Linked DNA regions of Homo sapiens: all the other regions are linked to region 3. Evidence: promoter capture Hi-C in 16 types of primary human blood cells and fetal thymus (Javierre and others, 2016). All regions are on one chromosome and are shown on one strand. The core of a region is centred on a gene start or on the middle of the fragment in contact, and the rest is flanking DNA. Distances in the headings are between cores, read along the strand shown.

Region 1 (2,973 bases), core at 105-2,604, 190 kb after region 3:
ACAAGAGAAGTACATAAAATTGAAAAAATATCCATGAACAAAATATCCCCCCCCCTTTTTTTTTCTATCTGATCATAGAGGTGGAATACCAGTGTTCTGAGGGAACCTAACTTGAAACCTCTGGTCTAGATTTATTCTTCAGCTGGGCATGGTGGCATGTGCCTGCAATCCCAGCACTTTGGAAGGCTGAGGTGGGAGGATTGCTTAAGGCCAGAAGTTCAAGACCAGCCTCGGCAACATAGCAAAACCCTGTCTCTTAAAAAAAAAAAAAGATTTATTTTTCTTTAATCATCATATTCTAGAATCTAGTTTCATTGTATATTGTTATTCATGCATTTAGGTTTTATAATTTGAGCTTTCATAAATATGCTTATCATTTCATACCTGTGACATATTTAATAGGGAACTCTGCTTGAATCATGATTTTACCATGCGAATGGGCAATCCAGGTCTAGAGAGTTAAGCTCACAAACAGGATACCTCTATGGTGAAGTCAGAATTTGATCTTCTTACTTATAAGCTTGCTAAATAATCTTTTTTGGTCTGGACATTCAATAATTAACCTCTGTCATTTTGGGTTGTTAGGAATTACATGTTGAGAGCCTGAGGAAACTGCTTTCTGACAATTGGCCTTTCAAGATAAGACTGATTAAACCTGCTTTCTGTGCAAATTATCTGACTCAGGCCCAGGAAATGTTAGTAGGGATATTGTTTCAGTAGTAGTTTTGTTGTTGGGTATTTGGCAAAGTCGAAAGACTTTCACCATTTGTGATTCATGTGTTTGACTACGTTTTCTTAATGAGAAATTGAGAGATATAATTGTAAAAGCCATTTAAAAGTTTTTATGTATATAGACATTGTATATTCTATGGATACATGCATTTTGAAAAAAATTTTTTTTTAACAAAAGTGGCATCATAACATAGTTAATATCTTACAGCCAGGTTTCTTCACTTAACATATCACGACTTCTTTTTATAGCAGTAAATGAAGATCCATGTAATCATTTTCCACGACTGCATTGCATTTTGTTCTACCATATGACTGTGCCATATTGTGTTAATTTATTTTTGGTTTTTGCTTTTGTTTATTTAGAGACAGGCTCTTGCTTTGTTGCCCAAGCTGGAGTGCAATGGTGTGATCATAGCTCATTGCAACCTTGAACTCCTGTCCTCAAATGATCTTCCTGCCTCAGCCTCCCAAGTAGCTGGGACTACAAGGCACAGCCCACCACACCTGGCTGGTTTTTTTTTTTTTTTTTAATTTTTAGTAGAGATGAGGTCTCTATGTTGCCCGGGCTGGTCTTGAACTGCTGGGCTCATGTGATCCTCCTGCCTCCCAAAGCACTAGGATTACAGATTTAAGCCACTGAGCCCAGCCTGTTAATTTATTTTTGGATGAGATCTAAGTTGTTTATCTCTTATTCTTACTCTTTTTTTCCTTTTTAAATTTCATCATCTATTTAACCAGATGAAGTTTTTCACTTTTTAAAAACTGCTGTGGTTGGCATAAATGTTCATACATCTTTTTGCAGCTGTAGTTTCTTCTCTAAATTGTTAGAAATAGAATCACTAGATAAAAGGATACGCAATTTTGTATAATAAGTTATAAGTGTCAAAAATATTTAAAACAATTTTTGGTCCTATATTTAATATGGGGAAAAAATTATAGCCACCATTCGCTTACCTGCCAGGAAGGGTGCTAAGCCTCTTGCATATACATCATCTATTTAATGATCAGAACAACCCTCTGGAGCAGGTGGTATTTATTTTATAGAAGAGAAGCTGGAGGCTTACAGGAATTACCTAACTTGTCCAGGTTCATAGGCCAGTAATTGTTGGCGTGTGGATTCAAACATTGGTCTGTTTAATTCTGAATTTTGTGTTGTTTTAAATTTTATTATAGAGGATGTACATGCTCACTCTAGAAAATTTAAGTAATATAAAGAGTAAAACTCTTTAAAAACATCATATAATCAAGAAATAATCACTTTAAGATATCGCTCTATATGCATATTTTATTCTATGCATGTATTGTGCCCTGTCATATTGACATAAAAAAATCTGAAAGTACATTTATCTCACCTTTGTCAGCTTTTATGATGCCTAGAACAATTTCATTTAAGGCTGCCATTGGTAAAATATTGCTATTTTACTGGAATTTCCATTTTAAGATCTAATATTCACTAGAAGCTTCACTATACTTTTTTGTAAAGTACTTTAACTTTGTAAATGCTTTTTGAAGTTGAGAAAATAATTTTGTGATGGAATTAATAAACCTGATCCAATTACAGTGACGTCTTGGTAATTTTTTTTTTTTTTTGAATTGAGAAACCTGTGTTTTTCTGAGGAGGCTGAAAGTCATTTTAGAGGCTCGTTAGAAAAGCTGAGGTTTTAAAGAAGTGATCAAGTAGCTGTTGCTAGGAGGTAGCTAAAGGAAGCTCTAAAATCTTGGGATCTGGGCAGAATGTATTATAAGAGCCTTAAGTGTGTGTTTGTGTCAATAGGGAACACTAGGAGTTTCTTTTAGCCATTTTGATTCACATTGTTTTGACAGTGGGGAAGAGAAGAGCCCTACTTTTTTTTGTTAAACATTTTTGAATTGATAAATGATGGATAACAGCAGAATGAAACAGATATTTTGGATTTCAGATTTTCTGTAAAAATGTCTCTTAAGTGTCACTGTCATTCTCACTTCTATTTAAACACACACACACACGCACACACACACACACACACACACACAGAGAGAGAGAGAGAGAGAAAGATAGCTTCAGACTGAGAATCCCGACCATTTGAGGCATCAGCCTGCTCCTTTAATGAGAGAAGCCCAGTGTCCCGTTTAGTAAAGAGCCTGGGCAGGTTGAAGCCTGGCTCCATTCCTTTTTGGCTGCGTGAACTTCAGTGAGTTCCACAGCTTCTCTGAGCATCAGTTTTCCTATATATCACAGTGGGAGAAATATGATCCTCACTG
Region 2 (3,058 bases), core at 209-2,708, 210 kb after region 3:
CTAGGCTATATAAGGCAAAAGGAAAACTCGAGGAACTCACCACCATTTCGTTACTTAGGTCTCAAGGTTCCAACCAATCTGCCTTTTTCTTTTCTATTTTTCAGAGTCTTGTTTTTTTTTTTAAATATATATAGGATTTTAAATTTTACTTATGGGAAGAATAGGGAAAAGTACATCTACTTTATTTTCCAGAAATGGTGTTATTGCCTTATATTTTAAGGTAATTAGTCTGCCTATAATTTTCGGCATGAAATCTGCTGTGGCAGTCTGAATAATGTCTCCCCAAATACAGGCATATTTTAATCCCTGTGAACCAGCTGTGAATGTTACTGTATATGGAAAAAGGGACTTTGCAGAAGTGATTAAGTTAAGGAAGTTGATGTGGGGAGATTATCCCGGATTGTTTGGGTGGGCCCAATTAATCACAGTGTCCTTAGAAGAGGGACCCAGGGGGAGCCATTTAGAGGAGAAGCCGATGTGATGACTGAAACAGATTGGACTGATGCATTTTAAAGATGGAGTAAGGAGCCATAAGCCAAGGAATATGGGCAGCCACTGTAAATTGAAAAAGGCAAGGAAACAAATTATCTCCTCAAAGCCTCCATATGGAACCAGCTCTGCCTACTGTCACTGCTTTAGCTCAGTGAAACTGATTTCAGACTTCCAACTCCAGATCTGTAAGAAAGTAAACTGGTGTTCTTTTAAACCACCACATTTACGGTAATGCTTTACAATATCCATAGGAAATTAATACATCTGCTTTGTATAGATAGCAAATATGTACAGCAGGAGATGCAGATCCTAGTGATGAACATGCATATTCTGAACTTCTCTTATTCATCATACTTTCTAATTTGGAGTATTTAATTCCAAATACTCCAAATTAGAAAGTATGATGAATAAGAGCATATAGAGGAGTCGTGTGACTTAAGTGTTATTTAAGGAAGCTTGAGTTGCAACAATGTGTAAGATGAATTGGGTGGATGGAGATTGGAATCAGAGAGGCTAAAAAGGAGGCTATTATCATCCATCTCAGAGAGACAAGGACTTATCAAAAGAGGATAGAAGTTGGACTGAAGATTTAGAGATGGGTACCAGGGACATTTCAAGAAAAAAGAAAAAAACAAGGCTTTGAAGACTAACTAATGATCAGAGAGATGAAGAGTATGAAGTCAATGATGACGCAAAAGCATGAATAAGTAACGTGTTCATTAAGCAAGAAATAAGAGGGTAAAAACGTTTTCTGTTAGGTTTTCACCTGTCAAAAATGACTGAACAAGTTAAAGTGATTGTATTCTTTTAAAGGTGAAAAGTCAATCAGTGCTTTTTAGAGAATGTTAATTCCAAATCTCTGACTTTAGAAAGGCTGGTTTGTCATATCCTCCTAGTCCTTGAGGACCAAAATATGTCCAGGTGCTTGATTGCCATGTCTTAAACAAGCAGCCCTCTTATTCACTGGCAGTAAGAGAGATGTTTATTAGCATCCTTTTGAGTTGTTGATGAATTTACTTATTGGCTGACCTCTCCTTTGTTACAGTCTGAAATTTTATATTTAAACTTTTAAAGGATATAAAGCTCTCTATTTGCAAAACAACCATCAGGTGTTTTTCTTCTATTTAAAGCTGAAGTTCTTAAACCAAAAATACCATTCTGAATCCCAAATGTGTCTTCTATCAAACATCCTCAAGGTTCTTAAAATGATGTAAAAATACATCTTTTTGTTTTTGAGCCAACTCTGGACTCAATGTCCTCCGAGACAACCTTTAGAAGTATAAAGGTGGAGTCAGGCTGCTTTTACAACTTGGTTGATTCTATTTATTGAACATTTGCTGTGTGAATGTTCCCCTGACCTTGGGTATCATTATCTATCTGTGATAGATAACCTATATCACAGATAGATAGATCTATCTGTGACAGATAACCTATATCACAGATAGATCTATCTGTGACCTCGGGGATCATCATCTGTTAAAGCTTTCATTCATTATAAAGGGATCATTGAGGGACTAGTGTGGGGCTCCCACGGGGATTTTCAGCTCACGGAGATCCTTTATTTATGGGGCTCAATATGGCATTGTTTTTGTTTTACATTTCCTTCTGAGACAGAGAGAACTCACATAAAGCCTAAATCTGGCTCTTGCAGGAAGTTTTGGCTCTGTAAAGCAGAGCTTCCATTTTGAATGAGGTTATCTTTATGAAGCACAGTATTATGGTTGAACTCTTTTTCATTCTTAAATCCATAAACCAAAAATTCCCCTGTTCTACTTTATTACAATAGATGTTTTCATCAGCTTCTACTGAGTTGGATATTTTCAGAATTCTAACTTTGTTGCAAGCCTTCCATTGTCTTCAGTGCTTCTCAAACATGAAAATGCCTAGGAATTGTTGGGGGATCTTGTTCAGTGCAGTCTCTGATTCAGCAGGTCTGAGGTGAGACCTGAGAGTGTGCATTTCTAACAGGCTCCCAGGTGGTGTGCTGCTGCTGGTCCCTGAACCATATTCAATAACAAGGGTGTTTGGCTCATCCTTACTCTGTAAATATCAACTTAGGCTACATCTTAATTTGGTGCCAATAGTATTTCGTAAGTTTCACAATTGGATTGAGCTAGATCAGAAATTAATAGTTAAACCATTGCTTTTTTATTTCAGGAATTAGCAAAAATAAGATGAAAAACATCTGTTTAGAAAATGGAAAATGCTTGAAAAAGTCTAACACTAATGGTTTGAGTTTTAGTTGAGATTGACTTCTATCATTTCCTTTTAAAAAAAGTTAATTCTTTTTTAAATTTCAATAGCTTTTGGGATACAAGTGGTTATTGGTTACATGGATGAATTGTATAGCATGAACTCCGAGATTTTAGTGCACCCATCACCTAAGTACTGTACATTGTACCCAATATGTAGCTTTTTAATCTCTCTTGTCCCCGACCCCACCTTCTGTGAGTCTCCATAGTCCGTTATATTCACTCTGTGTGCCTTTGCATACCTGTACCATTTCCTTTTATGGTTTTCTTTTAGATACATGCAGTAGGTCAAGGAATATAGGCTAAAAAATTTT
Region 3 (3,126 bases), core at 264-2,763:
CAGGCGGGCATCATGGTCCTACCGATATGTGATGTCACCCCCGGTGGCTCAGCTGTAAAATTCCTCTCTTTATACTGTCTCTCTTTATTTCTCAGCTGGCCAACACTTATGGAAAATAGAAAGAACCTACGTTGAAATATTGGGGGCGGGTTCCCCCAATAAAGATGTCAGATAGGGGTACAGCTTTTTTATATTCCATCCCTACCATCATTGCCTTACTTCAACTTCTGATTATTTCTTGCTGGATAATTGTATCATTGGCATTTCTCCCTTCAGGCTCTTAAGCCTCTTATTCACCCTTCTCCTACTGCCAAAGCCTTCATTTTAAAATGCAAGTATCATTACTTCTCTGATTAATATCTTACGGCAAATTCCAGATTTGGTTAAGTACATAGTCTGTGTGTTCCCTAAAACATTCTCTGTCGCAAAGCAGCAGAGCGTTGGGATTACCAGACAGTGGTGTTCACATCAGACCACCCAGGTTCACATCTCAGTCTTCTAGTTAAAATTGTGTGACCTTGTAGCAAATTGTTTAACACAGGAAGCTGTAAAACAGTAAAAACAGTAAGTACTTTATCATGTTATGAATGCATGCAGTGCACAACACCTAAGTGCTCAATAAGTGTTGCCTGTTATTGTTACAGTATATTATTAATATATTGTAATTGTCCCCATAATAAACTCTAAATACAGTACATGTTAATTATTATTGAGGATGACATTGTAATTGATTACGTCTCAGTCTCTCCATTATACCTCCAATAACTTCGGGGGTAGAAGCTGAATTACTCTTTTTTGCTTCCCTAGAGGTTTACATATTATTTGGTACTCAATTATGTAGGAACTGAGCCACAGGCAGAACCAAGAAGCTGGCTATTGCTTCTGCCCTCGCCTGAGGTGAATTGTTAGCTGCACTGTTCCTGGGAGTCAAGAGCTTGCACTCACTCTCAAGCAAAATGGCATAACTTTGGCTTTTCAGAATATTAAACTAGTGATTCTGCCTTTCCCGCCTCTCAAATAAATGGTGTGTCACCCTAGAAAGAAAGATAACACACTCCGCATACACAAACACGCACACCGCAAGGAACCAAAGGCCAAGAGTATCAATGTACCAGGGCGCACACACTTCGAGAGACAGGTTCGGTGCATCGCAGGATCCCAATCTTTCTTGCATCTTCAGCTCTAAAAGTCGGCACCTCGGGGTATGCCAGGATCCTCGAGAAAACAGATATAAACACATATTTACCCACAAAACAGAGATAAAGCACAAGCCTGCGGGATAACTGGAGGAGTTATCTTACAGTTGAGACTTTCTGCAACCTGCAGATTTTGCCGTGCCCAGGGCACAAGTTTTTCAGGGCTCCTGGGCACCCCCGCGACCGTCATCTCACTTCCCCGGCAGCTTCCTCGCCCCGACCGCAGTGTTCCCAGCGCGGCTCCTTTAAGCCGAGCTACGCGCATGCGCACTGACTGCGGAACTGGGCGAACCCGGGGGTTCGTTTCTGCTGACTCCAGTGTCCCGAGAGGCGCCGCTTCTTCCGCTTTCTCGTCAGGCTCCTGCGCCCCAGGCATGAACCAAGGTTTCTGAACTACTGGGCGGGAGCCAACGTCTCTTCTTTCTCCCGCTCTGGCGGAGGCTTTGTCGCTGCGGGCTGGGCCCCAGGGTGTCCCCCATGGCGGGGCCGCGGGTGGAGGTCGATGGCAGCATCATGGAAGGGGTGAGTACAGAGCGAAGCGGCCGGGGCTGCAGCCTAACTAAGGAGGGGAGCTCTCACCACCGGTGTGCTTACTTCTCTTCTCCCTGTACCCCAACCTTTGCAGGGCGGCCAGATCCTGAGAGTCTCTACGGCCTTGAGCTGTCTCCTAGGCCTCCCCTTGCGGGTGCAGAAGATCCGAGCCGGCCGGAGCACGCCAGGCCTGAGGTAAATCTGGCTGGAGGGGGAGTTGGGCCGTGAAGCTGGGGGATCGGGGGGTCGGGCTGCCGGGCTGGGGCATCGGGAGTCCGAGTGGTGGAACCCAGAAGGTCCCAGACGCAGGTATGGGCGATCCAGGGCGGGGCACTCTGCCTGGGCGGTGGCCTGGGTTGTAAAGTCTTGAAAGCCTGGAGGGGTGAGTTTAGAAATGGTCTCGAGTTTTCTCTGTTTGACTAAATAGTGTCATTTGCTGAAGAGCTAGCTTTTAAAATGTTTTCTCACCTCACCGGGCATTCCAAATATCCGAACAGCACGTATGAGCTGGCAAGATAGATAGGGCAGAAATGCTTGTGACGCCAGAGGAAACCCTGTTTTATAACCAGTGCATTCTGGTTCTGCTGTCAGTTTTAGAATCATAAAACAGGAAAGAATCCTGAGATGTGTTATCCCAGCCTTCATTCATACCTCCAGAGAGCTGTTATGACCAGAATTATCTGTTGTGGAGAGGGAAACACCTTGACATTTGACCTTATTTCTTCTGTCTGGGTAGCTGGGCATGCCACTAGTTGAGCTTCAGGTACATGCACCTGCTAGAAGAGGACCCAGGTTTGAAGCCACACTGATTGCTTTGTATGTATTCTGTATTTATTACATTTTAATAAATCAGCGGTCTCAGTCTTTTGTCTACAGTTTTGAAATTACCAAAAGGCAATTACTGATATGTTAATGTTAATTGCCTTTGTCATAGTTTGCAGCCCTCCAGTTCACCAACAGGGGAATCCAATTCATTAGGCTGTAGGTGTTGTATTAGTTTGCTAGGGCTGCCATAACAAAATGCCACACACAGAGTGGAGCTTAAACAACAGAAATTTATTTCCTCACAGTTCTGGAGGCTGGAAGTCCAAGATCAAGGTCCTGACAAGGTTGGTTTCCTCTGAGAGCCATGAGAAAAGGATCTGCTCCAGGCCTGTCTTTTTGCCTCTTCACATGGTGGTTCCTCTGTGTACCTTGCCCCTAGCGTCTCTGTATGTTCTAGTTTTTTTTTTTTTTATAAGGACACCAGTAAGATTGTATGGTGGCCTTATTTTAACTTAATTATCTCTTTAAAGGCTCTATCTCCAAATATAGTCACATTCTGAGATACGGAGGGTTACAGTCTCAGCATATTAATTTAGGGGGAACATAGTTCAGCCCATACAGGCACCATAGATTG
Region 4 (3,059 bases), core at 282-2,781, 240 kb after region 3:
TGATTTCCTTATTCTGTCATTAAATCGTTTAACACAGAAAACAAGAACAAATGTTAAGGATTCCTTATGGTTGTGACAGAATGCTGAGGAACAGTCAGATTTTATTTTTATTAATTTGTCCTCTTTTGCTAGTCTTGCAGTTTCTACTGCCCTGTGCAATGCACACACACAAGGTTACATTTTTGTTGACCCACTTACTGTAAAAAATGAGTTTCACTCCCTGACACTCAGAGGAGTTTTCAAATGCTTAAGAAATGAGGGACATGTGATTATGGTGTAGGTGGGGTGGAAGTATTTTATTAAATTGAAATTACTTGTGGTATCTGTCTTGAATATTTGCTATGCTTTATTTTTATGACACTTAATCACTGGATTACTAGTCATCTACATTGACCTTACCTGACCCCCAACTCTGAGTTAGTTCATGTTGCTTCTCCCATAAGCCTCTCTACATCCCACCTTGGTCTAAATCAGAATACTCTTTTTCACTCAGAATTTGCATAATCCACTAGACTATATGCTTTGTGAGGGCAGGGATGGTGCCTCTGGTTTTTATAGTTATGTGCCCTGTGCATGGCATATATTAGGCACTCATTAAGTATTTGTTGATTGGATAAAATGATGGATGGTTAAATGAATGAATGCTCTGTAGCTTTAATAATAAAACTATACAAATAAGTGAAACTTATTATAGCCTGTAATAAGCTTTGTTATGCACTCTTCTATCTTAATCTTCAAACATTTGCAGGGATATTCTCATAGTGAAGGTTGTAGGTAATGTCAGTGGTGCCATTGTCTCTTGGAATTTTTCCTTTCTTCTCCATTCAGTTGCTTCCTCATCCCTGTTGTGTTTGAGTCTTTGATGATCTTCCTAACTTGTCTCTTTCCACCTTTAATTCTTACTTTAAAGTAGGGTTGGCAAACTTTTTCTGTAAAGGGCCAGATAGTAAAGATTTTTAGCTTTGTGTCCCAACTATTCAACTCAATACATAAACGAAAAGTGTGGCTAATATTAAATAAAACTTTATTAACAAAAATAGGTGGTGGGTTGCATTTGGATAGTGAGCTGCAGTTTGCCAACCCCTGCTTTAAAGCATTGCCAGATAAGAGATATAGATTTCAACATCTTATTTCCCTGTTCAGAAATGACCAGTGGTCCCTTAGTGCTAGAACATAAATACTGACTTTCTTTGTTGAGCTTTCAGGCCCTCTGTACTGCATTTCTGTAGTATTGTATCTTTGCACCAGCATTTACCTTGCTTATTCTCTTGTTTTCTTCTCCCACAGTGTTCATGCCTACTGCTAGTCTTTAGGAAGCCCTTTCTTGGAAGCCCCCTGCTCTCCTTACCAATTTCTCATCTTTAAATAAAGACATATATTACCTCCCATGTCTTCTGTGAAGCTCTCCCCAGTAAGTGGAATCCACCCTATAATTAATACTTTATTTTATCATGTATGCTATTATATACATGAACATCTATATTTGTTTACATATTGTCTGTGTATGTAAGAATTGTCTCCAAATTTAAACTTCTTTTGCAGACATTTCAAAAAGTTCTTTTATAGTTCATGGTTTCTAACACAGTACCGGTCACAGGAGGGAATTAAAAATTAAAATACTCATTTGGTTGAAAGTTGAAAGCAAAATGGAAATGAAATATTGTGTGCTTCCTACTTTCCCTCAGCATTCTTATATGATAGTTGAAGTTGGCTTAAATGTAGTTCTCTTTTCTAGTGTTAGTAGCATTTTTATACTCAGTTGGTTAATGCTGCTCTTTGGTTATGAAGACTCTGGATGTTTTCCACCTCAAATTTGACAAACGTAAGAACAATCTTGGTAGCCTATGAATAGGTTAAGTTCTTCTGTGTTCTAACATCAGGCAGAATACGTATGTGTTTTAAGGAATTATTGGTCCTTAAAGTAGGACCTGGAATGAGATCAAAATATTAGAATCTAGCTTTATAAAATAACCAGTTTGATGAAAATCTGAGTGATTGGCAGTGCACTAAAGCATGGTTCATTTGTACTTTGGGATAATGTTAGTGCTGACAGTGATAAGCTACTTACTGATTGTTTGAATATCCATTCCCAGTAAAGTGCTGATACTTTCCAGTGGTATGTAGTAGTGTTTCCCGATATCAACTTGTTGTCTTTTCCCTCTGCCTGTTCTCCATTTTAAAAATTGGTCATCTTGTCCTGATTTTAAATAGGACATTTTTATTCGTCTGCTTTTGTCGCTATTAAGAAATACCTGAGGCTGGGTAATTCATAAAGAAAAATGGTTTATTTGGCTCACAATTCTGTGGGCTGTACGAGCATGGCACCAACAACCTGCTTGGCTTTGCGTGAGTCCTCAGGAAGCTTACAATCATGGTGGAAGGCAAAAGGGGATCTTGTGTATCACATGGCAAGAGGGAACAAGAGAAAGGGAGGATGTGCGAGGCTCTTTTAAACCACCAGATCTCATGTGAACTCATAGAGTGGGAACTCACTCATTACTGGGAGGACAGCACAAAGCCATTCATGAAGGATCCACCGCCATGACCCAAGTACCTCCCACTAGCCCCACCTCCAACACTGGAGTCACATTTCAACAGGACATTTGGAGGGGATAAAACATCCAAACTATATCAATATTCATTTATTAATTCATATTAATATTGTTAAATATTAACTAGGTGTTAATATTTATTACAGTTAAAGGTACTAGCTTTCTATCCTCTTGTTGTATATTTATGTTGCTGTGGTTTTTCATCCTTCCTCTTTGTTGTGGCATTGCTTTAGATTTGATGTAAGTTTTCAGCTAAGGGATACTAACTACATATCAAGAACATGAGCTCAATCTCAGTATTGAACCACATCTTTGGCCTTCATTCAACATTGCGATTTTTTTTCCCTTCCCAAGGGGACCTGAGAATGCTACTTGACAAAGCATCAAATTGTTATGAGGTCAGCATGGTTCGGATGATGCCTTTAAATATGCACATAAACTGTTTATATGTTTGCAGTATTTGTAGATATATGTAACTATAATTTAAGTTTCCAGTGTTAAATAGTA

What was found. Contacts are between HindIII fragments. The CHiCAGO score rates a contact against its expected background, and 5 or more counts as called.
Region 1: a fragment that was not itself captured here is called in contact with the fragment with the promoter of RTCA in region 3 in 8 of 17 cell types (total CD4 T cells, total CD8 T cells, non-activated CD4 T cells and 5 more); the score reaches 12.3 in total CD4 T cells.
Region 2: a fragment that was not itself captured here is called in contact with the fragment with the promoter of RTCA in region 3 in 3 of 17 cell types (non-activated CD4 T cells, total CD4 T cells and total CD8 T cells); the score reaches 5.4 in non-activated CD4 T cells.
Region 4: a fragment that was not itself captured here is called in contact with the fragment with the promoter of RTCA in region 3 in 1 of 17 cell types (total CD8 T cells); the score reaches 5.1 in total CD8 T cells.

The regions. Positions count from the first base shown.
Region 1 is chr1:100,456,383-100,459,355 of GRCh38, forward strand. All of the region lies in intron 8 of CDC14A (cell division cycle 14A), which reads left to right. Among named protein-coding and RNA genes, the nearest start is that of GPR88, 80 kb to the right of the region's middle. The HindIII fragment of the contact is 1,672 bases long and covers 519-2,190 here.
Region 2 is chr1:100,476,502-100,479,559 of GRCh38, forward strand. The region is part of intron 10 of CDC14A (cell division cycle 14A); the gene reads left to right. Among named protein-coding and RNA genes, the nearest start is that of GPR88, 60 kb to the right of the region's middle. The HindIII fragment of the contact is 1,027 bases long and covers 946-1,972 here.
Region 3 is chr1:100,264,703-100,267,828 of GRCh38, forward strand. It overlaps RTCA (RNA 3'-terminal phosphate cyclase), which reads left to right and starts at 1,514. Exons shown (of 11, transcript NM_003729.4): 1 at 1,514-1,718; 2 at 1,822-1,922. The coding sequence starts at 1,674. It overlaps RTCA-AS1 (RTCA antisense RNA 1), which reads right to left and starts at 1,472. Exons shown (of 3, transcript NR_110435.1): 1 at 1,302-1,472; 2 at 1,127-1,215; 3 at 40-545. RefSeq lists enhancers at 1,205-1,754, 1,323-1,682. The HindIII fragment of the contact is 11,806 bases long and covers 1-3,126 here.
Region 4 is chr1:100,503,527-100,506,585 of GRCh38, forward strand. All of the region lies in intron 15 of CDC14A (cell division cycle 14A), which reads left to right. Among named protein-coding and RNA genes, the nearest start is that of GPR88, 33 kb to the right of the region's middle. The HindIII fragment of the contact is 1,657 bases long and covers 704-2,360 here.